6 separate regions of the Homo sapiens genome follow, and all the other regions are linked to region 1. The links are contacts of gene promoters, found by promoter capture Hi-C in blood cells and fetal thymus (Javierre and others, 2016). All regions are on one chromosome and are shown on one strand. Each heading gives the region's core, a stretch centred on a gene start or on the middle of the fragment in contact. The rest is flanking DNA. Distances are from core to core; before and after follow the strand shown.

The links. The method cuts DNA at HindIII sites, captures the fragments that hold promoters and counts their contacts. A CHiCAGO score of 5 or more calls a contact.
Region 2: a contact is called between the fragment with the promoter of ANKRD26 here and the fragment with the promoter of APBB1IP in region 1, in 1 of 17 cell types (neutrophils). The highest score is 5.4, in neutrophils.
Region 3: a contact is called between a fragment that was not itself captured here and the fragment with the promoter of APBB1IP in region 1, in 2 of 17 cell types (naive CD4 T cells and naive CD8 T cells). The highest score is 6.0, in naive CD4 T cells.
Region 4: a contact is called between a fragment that was not itself captured here and the fragment with the promoter of APBB1IP in region 1, in 1 of 17 cell types (activated CD4 T cells). The highest score is 6.1, in activated CD4 T cells.
Region 5: a contact is called between a fragment that was not itself captured here and the fragment with the promoter of APBB1IP in region 1, in 4 of 17 cell types (neutrophils, activated CD4 T cells, total CD4 T cells and 1 more). The highest score is 9.4, in neutrophils.
Region 6: a contact is called between a fragment that was not itself captured here and the fragment with the promoter of APBB1IP in region 1, in 1 of 17 cell types (neutrophils). The highest score is 5.5, in neutrophils.

What each region holds. Positions count from the first base shown.
Region 1 is chr10:26,437,012-26,440,028 of GRCh38, forward strand. APBB1IP (amyloid beta precursor protein binding family B member 1 interacting protein) reads left to right here and starts at 1,330. Exons shown (of 15, transcript NM_019043.4): 1 at 1,330-1,444; 2 at 1,641-1,842. RefSeq lists enhancers at 647-1,176, 894-1,023, 1,584-1,663. The HindIII fragment of the contact is 5,297 bases long and covers 1-3,017 here.
Region 2 is chr10:27,099,100-27,102,065 of GRCh38, forward strand. ANKRD26 (ankyrin repeat domain containing 26) reads right to left here and starts at 1,395. Exons shown (of 34, transcript NM_014915.3): 1 at 986-1,395. The coding sequence starts at 1,227. RefSeq lists an enhancer at 832-891 and a silencer at 1,062-1,241. The HindIII fragment of the contact is 14,700 bases long and covers 1-2,966 here.
Region 3 is chr10:27,223,886-27,226,801 of GRCh38, forward strand. The region is part of intron 4 of ACBD5 (acyl-CoA binding domain containing 5); the gene reads right to left. Among named protein-coding and RNA genes, the nearest start is that of ACBD5, 15 kb to the right of the region's middle. The HindIII fragment of the contact is 2,587 bases long and covers 85-2,671 here.
Region 4 is chr10:27,259,309-27,262,498 of GRCh38, forward strand. It overlaps the pseudogene ODAD2P1. Among named protein-coding and RNA genes, the nearest start is that of ACBD5, 20 kb to the left of the region's middle. The HindIII fragment of the contact is 1,626 bases long and covers 610-2,235 here.
Region 5 is chr10:27,144,166-27,147,079 of GRCh38, forward strand. It overlaps YME1L1 (YME1 like 1 ATPase), which reads right to left. Exons shown (of 19, transcript NM_014263.4): 3 at 1,263-1,425. Among named protein-coding and RNA genes, the nearest start is that of YME1L1, 8.8 kb to the right of the region's middle. The HindIII fragment of the contact is 3,780 bases long and covers 1-2,914 here.
Region 6 is chr10:27,123,546-27,126,469 of GRCh38, forward strand. YME1L1 (YME1 like 1 ATPase) reads right to left here. Exons shown (of 19, transcript NM_014263.4): 10 at 2-154. Among named protein-coding and RNA genes, the nearest start is that of ANKRD26, 25 kb to the left of the region's middle. The HindIII fragment of the contact is 4,704 bases long and covers 1-2,924 here.

The sequences.
Region 1 (3,017 bases), core at 80-2,579:
TCACCTGATGGTCACCTGACATTCCTGGTAGGGGGTGGGAGGAGCCCTCTCCTGCCCTGCTCATGCCTGACTAGCTACCTACTGTAACAGAACAATGCCAGATTTCAGGAGTACCAAACTGCTGCACAATTGAAAATCCATGTATGTCTTTTGACTCCCCCAAAACTTAACCACGAATAGCCTACTGTTGACCAGAAGCCTTACTGATAATATTAAACAGTCAATTAACACATATTATGTTATATGTATTTAGATAAATACTGTATTTTTACAATAAAGAAAGCTAGAGAAAAGAAACTGTTATTAAGAAAATCATGAGGAGAAAATATATTTTCTATTTATTTATCGTTTATTTACCCTAATTAATACAGCAACCCCATCCCCATGCCCATCACTCTCTATCCCTCACCTTTTAACTTCCTTCAAAACTAGTTACATTCCTTGACATGTTAAATATTAATTTGTTTATTGTCTGCTTTCTACCAACTAGAATGCACCATGCATGAGAGCAGAAATTGTTTCCTCTAACTATTTTCATTGTTCTTAGAAGTGTTGGTGCTTACGAATAGTTTCTCATTAAATAAATGACAGAACTATTTGAAATTGCCTAATTAACACATGCACCTAATTTCTGTCTTTATGTCTTCACCACCTTCCCTGACATATAAGCCTTTGAAGACACAGCTGTAGAGGAGAAGGGGAGGGTTATTCAACCGCATTTACAAATCATAACTGATTTTAACTTCTGTATTTTCAGACCTCCCCAGCGACTTTCTCTCAGGAAACTCCACTCCCAACTGACAGGTGCTATTTCCAGCCAGTCCTATGCTGTTGCAAATAGTGAGTCCATGAATGCCCTCTGCCGTGTGCATTACTTATTTTCATCAGCAGATCTTCGTAACACACTCCTGGAAGTGGGATGACGGGGTCAAAAGGCGAATCCATACATAAGTTAAATAGATATTGCTCAATTCTCTTCCACGGGGTTCAGACCATTTTGGATTTCTACGAGCAATGAAGACAGTGCTATTCCTCTACACCCTGGCCGGCCAACTGAGCGTGGTTAAACGTGGGGAGGGAGGAGGGTGAGGTTACCAACCTGATGGTTGAGAAAGGGCCTCCGCCCAGCGCGCCCTTCCTCCACCCCCACCCGAGAGACAGCTGAACTCCGGCCGGGACGCGCGTGTTGCCAGTCCAGCCCTGCACCGCGTCCCCTGAGGGCGGGCTGCAGGCGGCCGGGAAGCCTTGCACAACCGGCCCAAAAGAGGAAGCCCAGAAAGTGCTGAAGTAAACACTTTGGGAGACCGTTGCAACATAAAGCGGCCTCTCAGTCTTTGGTGGAACCATCACTAGGCCCCAATCCCTTAGTCCCTCTTGCGTCGAGGCTGCAAAATGGTTCCATTCGCCAGGAGACGCTCCTGAGAGAAGGGCGCGCGCGGCACAGGTAGGGGGAGGCGCAACGTTTCCCAGAATTAAAATAAAATAAAATAAAATAAAATAAAAATCCCTTCAAGGTGGTTGTGTAGTAGGGGTGGGATGGGGGAGAGAAAATCAGGCGCAGACTCGATGAGTTGGAGAAAGCAGCCCCTAACTCGGAGTCCTTTACGCATATGTTTGTCTGTCCCACTGTCTCTAACCAGGGGCCTTCCTTGCACCTCGGAGCAAAGCAGCTCGGATAGCGCCACACGTCTGCGCGCTGCGTGGGAAGGGCAGGGCTGACAGCACTTCCTCCCCGGGGCAGCGACCTGGAGCCCGGGTGCGGCAGTCTGCACCGCGCGTCGCTTTCCCGGCCGGAGTCTCGCCGCCTTCCCGCGCCCCGCAGCGCCCCGCAGAGCAGTCGAGGTAAGTGGCGCTCCCAGTCCCGGGAGCCCTGGGAGCGCCAGCACGGGCCCCTCGGGGCTGTCAGGAACCCGTTTGTCAAGCCCGTCGGGTCCGACGCCGGGGGCAGCTCCAGGATCTGGCCTCGTGAACGCGTGCCCCCAGGCGTGGCCCTCGAGCGCAGCGGGTCCCCAGGGTCCCCTCCGCTGATCTCCACTCTGGACCCGGCTCGCGAGGGTGGGGGTGTGAGGGTTTGGGGTTCGGGTTTGCTTTTTCCCGAGCTATTGCAACAGATTTGACAGATTTCCTGCCCAGGAAATTGCTGCAAGGTCAAACGGGGAACTGCTATGAACCCTTGCACGTCCAGCAGGTCAGCAGGTCAGCAGGTCAGCAGGTCCGGGAGCCCCAGTCTCCCGGAACCTGGAGGGATTCTTGAGGGGCCAAGATTAGATGTGGATTAAATGCCAGCCGTGTGAGAATTTGAGTGTGGCTCGCAGTCTGATGCATCTTAGAGTGTTTCCTTCCTCTAAAACTTTTGGACAACTCTTTCCTCTTTTTAAAAATAACTTTTTCCCCCGAATATTCTCATTTTCATTTTAAAATACCATAAAGATAGATTTGGACACCAGGCACAAGTTTCATAATTTGGCTTGAAATGAATATCCAGAGGGCCTTTTACAGAATGGAGGAAACTAACTAGGGTGTCCTAATGTCTCCAAGAACCTCTGCGCAGGTGTTCCACCAAAGACCTAGCCCGGTGTACCTCTTACTTTCCTGCTAAGGTATTTCTTAGTTCATACCCCTGTGGAACGTGAAATGTGTTTCCTAGACACTCAGGGCATAGCGGTTCAAAAGAACTTTTAATGTGATCCTTGACGAGACGGAGTACTAGAGGAAAGTAACAAAAGAAAAGGGCCCGTGAGTTTATTATGCCCCCAGATGTTTTTTTCTGGTGGCATAACGTGGTTTAAACAAAGGTGCCGGTACTAGCTACTATTCATTTTAAAATCTGGGTCTCCAGAGAGAAATTTCAGAAAGGAAAACTTTGTCCTTTTTCATAAACCTAGAGCAGCGATTTTCCCTCTGGCCTCACTGGAATAATGGGTGGCACATGGGCCAGGACGATGATGCTGGCTGGCGAAATTAGCAAGGATCTGCTGAGAAATACTTTATAAAGTCTTCTAGTGGTATTTCCTGTC
Region 2 (2,966 bases), core at 145-2,644, 660 kb after region 1:
CCTGCCTCAGTCTTCGGAGTAGCTGAGATTACAGGCTCCCACCACCATGCCTAGCTAATTTTTGTATTTTTAGTAGAGACGGGGTTTCACCATGTTGGCCAAGCTGGTCTCGAACTTCTGACCTCAGGATATCCGCTTGCCTTGGTCTCCTAAAATGCTGGGTTTACAGGCGCGAGCCACCACGCCTGGCCTCTACTGCCACTTTCAATGGTCACATATTATCATGCACTGACATTTATTCACAAAATCCATTCTATGGGTTCTCCTTAATACACTGCTTAAGCAATGCTGAGAAAAACAAATTACTTGTATATCTATTTCCTAAAGGCATTTTATTTCTTTTTCTTTTTGAAAGATAGGGTCTTGCTCTGTTGTCACTGACATACCTCACTGCAGCCTAGAACTCCTGGGCTCAAGTGATGCTCCTGCCTCAGCCTTCCAAGTAGCTGAGACTATTAGAGTTGGGGGGGGGGGTCTCGCTATAATGCCCAGGCTGGCCTTGAACTCCTGGCCTCAAGCAATCCTCCCGCCTCAGCCTCCCGAAGTGCTGTGATTACAGGCGCGAGCCACCGCGCCTGACGAATAACAGATTTTATAGAAATAATTTTTAACCCAGAAGTTGCTATATTATGGAAACTGCTTATCTCATTATGCACCTTTCCATAAGTGTATGACATTGTATCTTAAATGTGTACATTAAAAATAAAACGCTGTACGTGCTTTTGTTCGTTAATTCACTTTAAAATTGTCACTTAAGTGCTCTCTAAGGGATTTCGGGGGGATCGGAAACCAGCTAGAGTTCTGTTTTTGTTTTTCTGCTCAGAAAGGCGGCCTGGGCGCTGGAGCCCTGCAAGGTGTCACCGTCCCAGGGGCTACGGAGCCCGCGGGAGGCTGATCCAGGCCCTGGGTGGCTCCCACAAAAGGGGCCCCTCTTCCTGCCCGCCTACTCCAGTGGCACTCAGTCCGGGCTTGCGACGCCTATTACCTGTTCATCTTGTCTCTATCGTTCAAGCCATTCTTCCTGAGCAAAAGGATCTGCTGCACTTTCGCCACATTACCCGCGCTGGCAGCTTTGTGGATCTTGCCGAGATCTCGGTCTCGGACGTGGTAGCCGGGCTGCGAGTAGGCGCCCTCCCCCGGCTCGCCCCCGCCTCCCGCGCTGCTCCTCTGCCGCCGCGCGAAGGAGCCCAAGGGCGACTCGCCCTTCTTACTAAAAATCTTCTTCATGGCCCAGGCGACCGGGCTTCAGAGACACCTCATGTCTCTCTCGGCTCTTAACGGCCTCCGGAGCCCAACATAACAAGTCAGCCCCGGCTGGCCGCAGCCTCCCAAAGGAAACTCCGCGGTTTCCAATCTCTCCCTCCGGGTTACCAAGCAAGCGATCCCGCTAGACACAAGTGCGCATGCGCACCTCAGATGGCAAGGTCCACGCGCGTGCGCACGAAGGCCCAGTGGTCAAGTGTGCTCCATGCGCATGTGCAAGGCCCAGACCTCGCAAATCTCGGCGACTGGGACGAGCCCTGCGTTCCTGTCAAACAAATGTCGGTGGGAGTCTGGCTGAGTGTTCAGGACGTTTGCGAAAAGAAGCCTCGCGCCTGTGGGGAAGCAGCCTTTACGCATGACTGGGACTGGAGTAGCGTGGAGTTTTAAGATGCTGAAAGCCTCTTCTCCGAGAAAACTCCCCTAAGAAACTCTCTGAATCTCCCTATCTCTCAGTTTATTCCCCTTCCATGTCCCTTTGGGTGCCATCTGGTCTCCATGAGAACTTAACAGATGCAACAACAGAGGGCACAGGATTTCGGAGATCGTGGCATATGTGTCAAGTGCAGAGGGCACAGGATTTCGGAGATCGTGGCAATATGTGTCAAGTGCAAACTTACGAGGAGAAACCAATGCACATTCTCCAGAAGAAATGAGAACGCATTTCTGCATGCCTCCTTCCCCCACCCCTCTGCCTTTGGCCCAGCCTTATGTTTTATTTTTTGCTTTTGATTTTCCAAGGTTACATCTCTTTCTTCTTTTTTTTTTTTTTTTCCCCAACAGAGTCTCGCTTTGTCGCCCAGACTGTAGTGCAGTGGTGCAATCACGGCTCACTGCAGTCTCCACCTCCTGGGCTCAACGATACTCCCACCTCAGCCTCCTGAGTGAGTAGCTGAGACTACAGACGCAAGCCACCACGCCCGGCTATTTTTGCATTTTTTGTAGAGACAGGGTCTCACCATGTTGCCCAGGCTGGTCTCCGACTCCAGGGCTCAAATGATGCTCCCATCTCAGCCTCCCAAAGTGCTGGGATTACAGGTGTGAACCACCACGCCCAGCCTAGATTGAATAATTTGACAACAAATTGGAATTAGCAACGCAGACGTCAAGTGGAGTCTCAGCAGAAATTGCTGCTGGAATGCACCTCCATAGCTCTGGACAGCTCTAGGGTCCCTTGTGGAGGAGGTGGCTGGCCCCAGAACAGGCGTCTTTATTGCCAAGTGAGAAATGAGCAAAAACAAAACAACACTTCTCAGGCCTCTCCAGCTTAGCTAGATCAAATGGTTTTGATGTGGGAGAGTGGTTTCCACTATCGTCACCAAGAATTTTCCTCCTACACTACCCCAGCTAGAAAGTTATGTTGTCTCCTCAACACTCCCCAAGGTGATCTATGAAGCTAGTCAAGTCCCAGCACTTTAGGAGGCCGAGGTGGGTGGATTACCTGAGGTCAGGAGTTCGAGACCAGGCCAACGTGGTGAAACCCCGTCTCTACTAAAAATACAAAAATTAGCTGGGTGTGGTGGTGCATGCCTGTAGTCCCAGCTACTCGGGAGGCTGAGGCAGGAGAAACACTTGAACCTGGGAGGCAGAGGTTCACACCACTGCCTCTGGAGTGGAGACTCTTGGATGGAGACCACGACTCTCTCTCAAAAAACAAAAACAAAAACAAACAAAAAATACTCAAGTGTGGAGAACACTGACTCTGA
Region 3 (2,916 bases), core at 128-2,627, 790 kb after region 1:
GGTGACAGAGTGAGATGCCATCTCCAAAAATTAAAAAATAAAATAAAAGGAATCCTTTAAAAAAAGTATATACACTCCTAGAAAAGCTTCAAGTATATTAAAGATCTAAAAGTGTTCTCATTTTGAAGATTATTTTACATGAGCTTCATGTAAAATTTTATACAATAACTTATAAATTGTGTATTACAGCTAGGGGGCGCAGTGCAATGGCTCACACCTGTAATCCCAGCACTTTGGCAGGCCAAAGCAGGAGGAGGATGGCTTGAGCCCAGGAGTTCGAGACTTGCCTGGGCAACATAGTAAGGGCCCATTTCTACAAAAAAAAAAAAAAAAATTGTCTAATTATCCAGACATGGCGGTGCACGCCTGTAGTCCCAGCTACTCGGGAGGCTGAGGTGGAAGGATCTCTTGAGCCCAGGAAATTGAGGCTGCAGTGAGCCATGATCACACCACACTGCACTCCAGCCTAGGCAACAGAGCGAGATCTTGTCTCCAAAAAAATAAAGGAAACAAACAAAAAAACTAGGGGCTTTCATTAAACGAAATAGAAAACTGAAGTTAGAGTAAAATTATGATGTCTGTTCTTTAACAATAAGGTAGCGTAGTATTTCTAACAGGGCACAAAAGTAAAGTAGGAAATTGTAATCACTTTCAGACACCTTCATAAATATGGGCCAATTTAGAATCACCAAATTTAAAGAACAAGGTAAATTAACTGAAAAGGTATTTAACTAAACAGCCATCAATTGGTGACTGATCAAAGAAATTAAAGTATTTCTAGATTTGAAATATTTTGCATATATTAAAAAGAATAAAGTCAGCTCTGTGTGTGCCAATCACAGGATGTTTAATATGATAACAGGGGCCGGGCGTGGTGGCTCACGCCTGTAATCCCAGCACTTTGGGAGGCTGAGGCAGGAGGATCACCTGAGGTCAGGAGTTTGAGACCAGCCTGTCCAACATGGTGAAACCCCATCTCTACTAAAAATACAAATATTAGCCGGGCTTGGTGGCATGCACCTGTGATCCCAGCTACTTGGGAGGCTGAGGCGAGAGAATTGCTTGAACCCAGGAGGCGGAGGTTGCAGTGAGCCAACATCACACCACTGCATTCCAGCCTGGGCAACAAAGTGATACTCTGTTTCCAAAAAAAAAGATACCAGAACTGGCTCCCTCTCTCTCGCTCTCTTTCTTTTTTTTTTTTTTTGGAGACAGCGTCTCGCTCCATCATCACCCAGGCTGTAGTGCAGCGGCACGATCTCGGCTCACTGCAACTTCCACCTTCCTGGTTTGAGCAGTTCTCACCTTCAAGCAATTTCAGACACCTTCATAAGTGATTTGCCCACCTCGGCCTCCCAAAGTGCTGGGGTTATAGGTGTTAGCCACTGCGCCTGGCCAAAACCCTAAAATTCTTGTTCAAACAACATGCTTTTATTCCTAAACCAAATACAAGATGGATCATTGGTGGTCTATGGTAGTCAGCAACTCTGATAGGATTACATGCTCATCAACACCATTCCCCACTGTGTTATATGTGTAGGAGGAGGTTGTTGAGAGAGATTACACAGAATGAACTATGTTAACAATAACTGGTTCTAGTGATTATAATTTAATTTTACAGCTTGTAGTAAATTATCTGATTGCTGCTCCTCTGAATGTACTGTGAAAGGAATGCTTTAATCACAAAATTTCTTTTTGCTAAAGGAAACATTTGTTATGAGGCTAGGGCCATGTGGAGGAATGTTTTATTATTTATTATAAATATCTGAGTTGTAATATATTTGAATTATAATAATAATTCTGAGATAAATCAGATTCAAACCAAGAGAAATGTTTAATGTGACCAAGTCACAACTAATAAATGGCAGAGAAATAATTCAAACATAAATCAGCACCCTTTACACTATCCCACACTGCCGTAATATAAAGACTTCAGTTAGCAGAATCTAGTAAGCCAATTGCATACCACATCCTGACCACCAAGCAACACCTCTACTTCTCAAGGCTTATTAAAAGATCTCTTTCTTAACTTTGTCCTTATTTTTAAGGCTACTAAATTCGGCATTTGGGTTTCTCATGCCCCATAGGGTAAAAGAGTAAACTGTGGACTGAAGTCTCAGAACGAAATAAAAGGAGTATCCATTGGCAGTAAGCAAATATTAACTGAGTATTCATTCTCTCAACAAACCAGAATTTCAGTAGTTAATATAGTGAAGACACAGTAGCCAAAACAAGACACATCCAAAATTGATGAAGTTACTCTCTTTGTTTTTTCTTTTTCTTTTAGATTCAGAGGGTACATGTGCAGGTTTGTTACAAGGGTATACTGTGTGATGCTGAAGTTTGGGCTTCTATTGATCCAGTCACCCATACAGTAAACACAGTACCCAATAGGAAGTTTTTCAGCCCTTTCCTCCACCCTTTTGAAGAGGTTATTCTCTGAGGAAGCAACTTTAAACATACACAAACCAAGAATGATCCCCAGCCATTTGCAAAATTATCTCCCTGACACCAATATTGAAATACAAGAAATGGTGCACATGTACACACATGAGATACAGACTACACACACACACACACACACACACACACACACACACACAAGCAGACACAGGCAAATCTCAGTCTAGGTAACTACTACCTACCCTCAGAGAAGATGTTATCTAAACCAAGCTTGTCCAATCTGCAGTCCTCGGGCAGCATGTGGCCCAAGACGGCTTTAAATACCCAACACAAATTCGTAAACTTTCTTTTTTTTTTTTAATTTTTTTTGTTAATTTTTTTGCGACAGCGTCTCACTCTGTCGCACAGGCTGGAGTGCAGTGGCATGATCTTGGCTCACTGCAGCCTCTGCCTCTGGGGTTCAAGCAATTCTCCTACATCAGCTGCCCGAGTAGCTGAGACTATAGGCATGCA
Region 4 (3,190 bases), core at 173-2,672, 820 kb after region 1:
CTCTGCACTACCCTGGACCCATCACCTCCCGGATCGGTTCTCCACTTACCCCGCTGTTTCCCTGTCTCTCCTTCCGCGAGCCCATCTTTCTCCTTCGCCCTTGCAGCTCGGCCTCCCGCTCCCAACGTGGTGTTCGCCGTCACTTCCCACCTCGTCCCTTTACCGAATCCATTCTTGGAAACTTAGGGTCTCAGCTCTGACGCCCCCTTCTTGTAACGAGTCTGGTGGGGGCCGTCATCCCACACTAGGCTTAGCTTTGATTTTACTTAGGGCCCTGTTCATGCCAGTTCTAAAAGTTCGATTTTCTGTAGGTCTTACTGAGTAACTTCTGCATTCTCAGAAAGCCGTGTATGCGCGGACTCCCGGTGGATGTTACCAATCACATTCATAGATCTCAGAGCTGATGGCTGCCTTTCCATAGCCCCCTAAAGAATTCGGTCGTGCTTCTGCATAAGTGTTAACGACATGATTCCCGAATGGGTTTTATTTCACTAATGATGCTGGAAGCTTAAAATTGACCATTAGAAAGAAAAACAATCTATGGTATCTATTGGATAGAGAGAAAAATGAGTGTTAACTGATTCCCAGTTTATGTAAACACGTAATCAAAGCTTTTTCCTTTTTAATCTTTAAACTTATTTTCTTTACTTCAAAGGTATGTGCTATTTACATGGATTCATTTTAACTATGGTTCTTAAGCCAAAAGAGCTAATGGATTGGCAATGGGTAGGAACTGGGGAGCAACTGCTTTTGATTTTAAAATCTTAGTTTTGAGTTATACCGACCATTTTGGAACACCATTTATTTATTTTCTAATAACATTGAACTTGCCTTCTGGATTGTCATAGGCCACCCTGAGGGTTTTTTTTTTTTTTTTTTCTTTTTGAGATGGAGTCCACTCTGTCGCATAGGCTGGCGTGCAGTGGCGCGATCTCGGCTAACTGCAACCTCCACCTCCCTGGGTTCAAATGACTCTCCTGTCTCAGCCTCCTCAGTAGCTGGGATTACAGGCGCGCGCCACCAAGCTGGCTAATTTTTGTATTTTTAGTAGAGACGGGCTTTTCACCATGTTGGTCAGGCTGGTCTTGAACTACTGACCTCGTGATCCACCCGCCTTGGCCTCCCAAAGTGCTGGGATTACAGGCGTGAGCCACCGCGCCCGGCCTCACCCTGAGGTTTTCTTAAGCTGACCAACCTTCTTTAATAAAACTGTGCATTGCTACCGTTCACTGGACTTGGAAATACAATTTGAGTAGATTCAAATGCTACATTTCTGTCAAAATTTATCTTGACGGAAATAAGAACGATTTTGCATTTCTTAGTTCTGTGCTAAGGGTCCTTCAAGAAGTTACTATATGGTATATTGACTAGTATAGCGTTAATAATCTGTTTAATTTCACATTTTTTCTTTAAAAATGTGCAAGAAGCAATCTTTATAAGATTACCAAAACAAATGTTATGCTTAAGATTAAAGACGAGCTGTTCACCTGTCTTTCTGTGTAAGATAAAGCTATTTGCAGTTATTTTACACTATTTTACACTTATTTGTGCTTATTTTATGCAACGTTGGGAAACGCAAGTCTCACACATACACATCAGAACATGTTTATGTGTTTAAAGCATTTCTCATCAGTTAGCAATAGAAACAAAATGCTGGAATACTAAAACAAACGCCCAGAACAAATTCGTGCACTAACTTCTACGCTTTATTTCATGAACACTTTGGTATATATGTCTGGATCAGTTGTTCTCGACCCTATCTGATCCAGTACTCGGTTTTTATAACAAAATTTTGTAATGCTGCTTTACGATCCTGAAATCAAGATCATAGATTATAATCGTACATATTTAATAAAGTTTTCAATATCAATAGCGTGCTAACTATAAAGAAAATAATTGTAATAAAATATCAGCATGTAAACGCTTGAGTTACCACTACGCTAGAGTATATAAGGAAGTAGTCAGATGTCCAGCCTTACACAGAATTACTGTAAACACAGCAGCCCCAAATGCAGACTGGTAACAGACGTGCCATTGCAACTTAAATTTCTCAAATAACCTTGCTATCAATGATGTCTTGGTAAAATTCCATGTAAAACAAAGTATGTACTACCTTCCTTTCATTTATGAAAGCTACAATTCTGGAAAATTCAGGGTATAATAAAACTGTGACAAAATACTTTGCGATTTTTGCAAAGTGTAGAAAAACTCTAGGCTCAGGTAGTGCTTATCTGAAGCTTTTCACTTATCAGATACCTGGAGGTTACAGCAGAATTCTTCCTTCTGAGGTACTGTCCTGCACAGAAGGGTATTTTACATCCTTGGTCCTCATCACTAAAGGCTGATAATGCCCCCTTTCCTATCGTGTTGGTAACTAGACATCTCTATAATATTTCTATACTCTATCAGCAGAAAGTACTGCCCTGTTGTGATCCAATGATCTCCTGTGATTGAATTTAATAGATAGTTCTAAGATTTAATACAGTGCAGAATGTAAAATCTCCAAGTCTAATCTTTGTACTTTGAGCCTTTGTAAAAATATAATGATCGGAAAAAACCTAATTTTATTCTATTTTTAATTGTATAACCATTCATCTAACATTATGGAAGAAATATTTTATCAACAAGTGTTATTACAATGACAAAGGAAACAAATATAGCTTATCTGCAAAAAAAGCCTTAAATGTTCATTATAAATTAAAGTCAGAAGTTGCGTTCTAACTTGGCTCTTATTTAATGTTACAGATACTGTTATTTTTTAAAAGATCTTCTTTTACAGACTAATTTCTATTTAGCCAATGTGAAGTTTGTTTCACTTGAATTTGTTTTAAATTTTACTGCTAGACTCTTCCGGTAACTAATTTAGATAAAAAGGCAGAAAGACTCTCACTTATTCCTACCTCTCTCACATTAACTCTTAAGAAGGTTGCAAATTACAGTAAAATGTCATTCTGGGCAGGATATATGGGCAGAGAATATAGTATTTGGATTGTCCAGATAGTCTGGTAATAGGATCAATGTTTCCTACATCAATTTTCAGAAAAAAATTATATTTCACAATACTGTTCTTATTCTATTTCTTTTTTTTTTTTTTATAACTCAGAAGGCACTTGGGGAAACCAGAGCTATCAGAATCATGTTCTTCAGTCATCATTGTGATGATGCAGGTATTATCACTATAAGAAAGTCA
Region 5 (2,914 bases), core at 335-2,834, 710 kb after region 1:
ATATGCAGACTAGAAGAGCAGTAGGAATAATCATAATAACATAGTAACAAAAAGAATTTTATTCTATTGAACACTTGGTATGGGCCAAATATTTTATAAGAAGGCAACTTTAGGCAGAGGCAAACTTTTAGTCTAAGCCCCCAAGCTCAAAACCATTTCATTTTTTCCTCACACTTACGGTTTTTTATGCCCTTACACTGAAATAAAGGCAAAGGAAGGGTCAAGAATTAATGAATTAAGTTTATGCAAAGGACAGCTTCAAATCAAACCTTCATTATAAACTAGTCAAACCTGCTATTTTGTTCCTGGATTTTTATGGCCTGTTTAAGTGCCATCCAAAGAAAAACTCATAAAGTTGACATCCCTTTTCAGACTAGTATGAACCCACTTATTATACTACCATACTGTTATGAGATTCAAGTAAAAAAAAATGTAGACATTCCACAAAAGGGATAACAACTGTTTTTTTAATCAATGTATTCTCAAAGATTAAGTATGTTTCCTGGAATTAAATGTGTGTCACCTAAAATTAAAACAAACAACGCCCCCCCATTCTGCTAAATGCAATGTGGTATGCTGGATCAGATCCTGGAAAAGAAAAAGGACACTTGCAGAGAACTAGTGATTTGGTGAAAACAAATTTTGTTGAAATTCAAATAGTCTGTAGTTTAGTTAAAAATAAGGTACCAATGTTAGGCCTGCACGGTGGCTCACGCCTATAATCCCAGCACTTTGGGAGGCTGAGGAGGGTGGATCACGAGGTCAGGAGATCAAGATCATCCTGGCTAACACGGTGAAACCCCATCTCTACTAAAAATACAAAAAATTAGCCGGGCGTGGTGGCGGGCGCCTGTAGTCCCAGCTACTTGGGAGGCCGAGGCAAGAGAATGGTGTGAACCCGGGAGGCGGAGCTTGCAGTGAGCGGAGATTGTGCCACTGCACTCCAGCCTGGCTGACAGAAGGAGACTCCGTCTCAAAAAAAAAATTATTGTACCAATGTTAATTTCCTAGTTTTAACAAATGTAACATGATTATGTAAGATGCCAAAATTAGTGGAAGCAAAATTCTGTACTATCTTTGCAACTTTCCTGTAAATCTGGTACTATTTCAATATGAAAAATTGCAAAAAAAAAAACAAAAAAAAAACACTTCAGGAAAGAACCCAGCCCACAATAAACGCTACTGTGAAAGCTAAGAAATGGTATCTATAATTATTAATAGTGCTAAAATATTTAATTGGAACAAAAAACACATTAACATACCATATTTATTTTCAAAGAAGGATTGTGCAGAGACATGGGATGTATGCCAATGGGAAGAAATGTTTTTGCCTTTACAAAATCCAGGAAGTAGATTTTCTACCAGCTGATCAATCTGTCCAATTTTTAGTTCAGATAATCCAAGGTCCCTTAAGTTAAGTGAAGGCTGTAAAAGATTGGGTCAACCAGGTATGCATTAATATTATCAAGATATTTAACCTAAGGAGTACATATTATCAGTTAAAACAATCAGATTTTAAAAGTCTAACAAATATATTTCCTTTTTTTAATATTTAAAAATAAATTGATGCAAATATTTTCACAGTTCGTTTTACTGAGATCAGTCATATGAGGTTTGACATAGGTTAAAAAATTATATTCCTAATGGTATCCTTAAATAAAGAGATGACATTTCAGCATGAATGAGAAAAACTTTTTTTTTTTTTAAATCAAACCCAAACCACTACTGTCCTAAGCATTATGGTTCACAGAATCAAGTGAAATGTATGGCATTTTTTCCTTCTCTCCATACAAGGGTACTCTGATCAAGAGCTAGTCTATCAACTATTGATCAAGCATTTATAATGACAAGAGTGTAAGAGTAACTAACTGCAGGGTTACAAAGTATGTTATATAAGGTCCAGGGGATTTTCCCCAACAGTGTAGAACTGATTGGAGGATAATAGTAAGGTTCTTGAATTGGGGAAATTCCATTCAAATGATAATCCTCACCAGTCCATGGAGCTTTTAAGCCCCTAAGCAGCCATAAACAAAAGCCCACTTGACAAAGAAATGGTATGCTTGGTTACCATAGGACATCTCACTCCTCTGGCCTCATTGCTTAGATCCTTCCTTGAACTCAGAGGTTCTAAAGTTACCCATATCTTCTAATAAAGAAGAAAATTAAAGTCAAAACTGTGTGAAAATCAGGCAAAAAAGTCTAAAAATCACAAAAATGTGTGTATACCCACTTTTAAACAACAGGATAGGGATTATTTTCTTGTCCACATGAGCTGAAAGAGAGGCACTTAAAGGCAAGTAACAATTACATGTTACTCAAACCCAAAACAGCTAAGGTGGGAAGATCGTTTGAGGCCAGGAGTTTGAGACCAGCCTGAGCAACATGGTAAGACATCATCTTGATGAAAAATTTAAAAATTAGCTGGGCATGGTGGTATGCACCCGCAGCACCAGCTACTCAGGAGAAATGTTTGAGCCCAGGAGCTGGAGGTTGCAGTGAGCTATGACAGCATCACTGCACTTCAGCCTGGGCTACAAAGGGGAGACCCTGTCTCTAAAAATAAAGTTTTTTTTAAAAGAGGCATGGACACGGATTATATAGCTCTGGACTGATGTCTGGGAATACGGTACTTTTTAAATTAGCTATAACTCATATTCTTAGAATTCATTTTCTCAATACTAACATAACTATAAAATACACCTTATTTCCTAATAGTAAGGATCAAAGGCAGAGATCATGCCTTACTCATCTACGTATCCTAGCATACAACATGACAGCACATAGTAAAAGACAGTTAAAGGCATGATGAAATAAAATACTTAAAAGTACTTTTTAAGCTATTAAAAATGATCAAGGCGGCTTAGGGACGGGGGCAAACAAAAAGCCATCCAAGGGTCTGGAATATCTCAAAAAA
Region 6 (2,924 bases), core at 226-2,725, 690 kb after region 1:
CTAAAAAGATTTCTGATACGGCTGGCTCCCACACCCACAAACATCTCATCAAATTCGGATCCAGAAGCATAATAAAAAGGAACATCAGCTTCTCCCGCCACAGCTCGGGCAAGAAGTGTCTTTCCAGTCCCTGGGGGTCCAACTAAAAGAATTCCTAAAAGAAAATGAAAACGAGAATGATTCAAAGTATTTTTAAAAAATCCCTCGATATGAACCTATAAAATAAATAATTATTCATTTATATAATTTTCAGGCTGAGGTCACACCAATAACCAATATTTTGAAACACAGCAAACCGTACTTGTCTCTGCTAATGGTTCACTTCAGAATCTTGTCCAAAATTAATGTTCCTGTATTATATAAATATTGTTTCCATATCAACAAGAGACATGACAGGGAGAATCTTGAGGCAAAAAAATATAAACCCATTTATCACTAAATAAGATAAAATTCATGTAAAAATAGATTAAAAGACTAAACAACCAAATGTAATTAGTGAATCCTGATTTGATGCTTTTTCATAAAGAACAAAAAATTCTAGAGACATCTGGTGAAAACATTTAAACAAGACTGAGAGTACATGATATTAAGGAAATAGGCATAATTTCCTTTGGTGGGATAAGGTTATTATGTTTATTTAGGACACTGTCCTTATTCTTAGGTGATGTACAAGAAAGTCTTTAGATGTCAAGTAGTTGACGTTTATAGTTTTCTTTCAAATGTTCAGGGGGAAAAATACACACATAACACAGAAAGCAAATATGACAGAATGTTAACAATTGTTGAGTCTAAGTGGATAGGATATGGATGTTAATTGTACTGTTCTTTCAAGGTTTTCCATGTTTGCAAATTTTCATAACACCAAAGATTTTCACGTTAGAAAAACAGAATTACCTGATTTATATGTTTTTATAAATATACATATTACATTTAAAAAGCAACAAAACTTCTTTACATACATGTTTGCTGCATTTTAACATAAAAAAAATTTTAAAGAAAGCTCAAGCTCAAAAATAGCTTTAAGACTATCCTAGTATTGTCATGTTTTAGTTATACTTAACTGGTTTAAATCATATTAATTTCTGTGGATTACATCTTGGTATCTGAAGATTTTTCTACAAATTTATACTACTCAAATTTTCTACAAATTTAAAATACTCCTTGTGATTAGAAAGAGGAAGAGTGTAACTATTAATACTTCTATGGTTTTAAACATTCACTCTGTGATGTTTAAATAAATGTAAAGGTGGTATGTGGAATGTCTCCTGATATGGGCTTTTCCAGTGTTTTCTCATGATTGTATTGAGATTGTGCTCTTTTTTAATTCCTTTTTGCGTGGACACCACATAAGCCATCACTTGGGTCCTTTCTAGAGCATCAGGAAGTACATGATGTTGATAAGGCTTTTGCCAGTGATATTAGCTAAAGTTATCATTATTAAGCACTGATTTAATAAATGTACCCTAAATTAGCAAAGGTTACTGCAAATAATTTCATACACTGCTGTATTTTCAGTGGAGATAGTTGGCAGCATAAAAACAAGCATTAAAAAGGAGTGTCATCCTTTAACTCAGCAATTCCATTTCTAGAAATTTATTCTAAAGAAATAATTAAGCATGCAGGCAAAGCCTTGAATTAAGATGAAACACAGCACTATTCTTAATAGCAAAAAAACTGGAAACCATATAAAAATTCAATATAAATGGTTAAATTGTGATACAACCATAAATTAGAAGGATACTGTGAAGTCATTAAAAGTCATGTTAACCATGAGAAAACATCAGACAAAGCTAAACTGAGAACATTCTATAAATAATTAGGCAAGTACTCTTTGCAACTGTAAAAATCATGAAAGATCCTCTTCTCTCCACTCCCTCACAAAAGGCTAAGGAATTGTTTCATTGTTTCATTTGAAAAAAAAAAAAAAAAAAACAATAAAAGCCTAAATGTTACCTGTGATCCTGGATTAGGTCCTGAACTGGGGAAGTGGGTAGGGATCAGGGCAACACTACAAAGGATACTATTGGAGCAAATGCTGAAATTTGAATATAGACTCTAAATTTGATAATGGTTTTGTATGTATGTTAAATGTCCTATTTTTTTTTTTTTTTTGAGACAGAATCTTGCTTTGTCACCCAGACTGGAGTGCAGTGGGAACAATCTCGGCTCACTGCAACCTCTGCCTCCTAGGTTCAAACGATTCTCCTGCCTCAGCCTCCTGAGTAGCTGGGATTACAGGCGCCTGCCACCAAGCCCAGCTAATTTCTTTTTTTAGTAGAGACAGGGTTTCACCATGTTGGCCAGGCTGGTTGGAACTCCAATGGCCCCTGGTTCAAGACCAGACTGGTCTCGAACTCCTGATCTCAAGTAATCCACCCGCCTCCACCTCCTAAACTGCTGGGATTAAAGGCGTGAGCCACCACACCCAGTAATGTCCTAATTTTAATATTATTCTGGAGTTACATAGAAGAATATCCTTATTCTTAGGAAATACACACTTGGGGTGATTGTTTACAATTTACTCTCAAATAGTTAAAAATTTATTTATTTACAAATAATTTTTATATTTATATATACATAAAGAGACAAAGTGAATGATTTTTAAAATGGAGTTAGGTTGAGTGCGCTGGCTCATGCCTGCAGTCCTAGTACTTTAGGAGGCCAAAGTGAGTGGATCGCTTGAGCCCAGGAGTTCAAGAGCAGCCTGGGCAACATGGAGTAACCTCATCTCTACAAAAAATACAAAAATTAGCCGGCATGGTGGTGTGTACCTGTGGTCTCAGCTACTTGGGAGGGCCGCCTGAACTCGGGAGGTTGTGGCTACAGCGAGCCATGATTGCATCACTGCACTCAAGCCTGGGTCTAAAAAGGAAACTAAATATTAAAAATTTGTGAGTCTAGGTAAAGGGTATGAGGAGCATTCT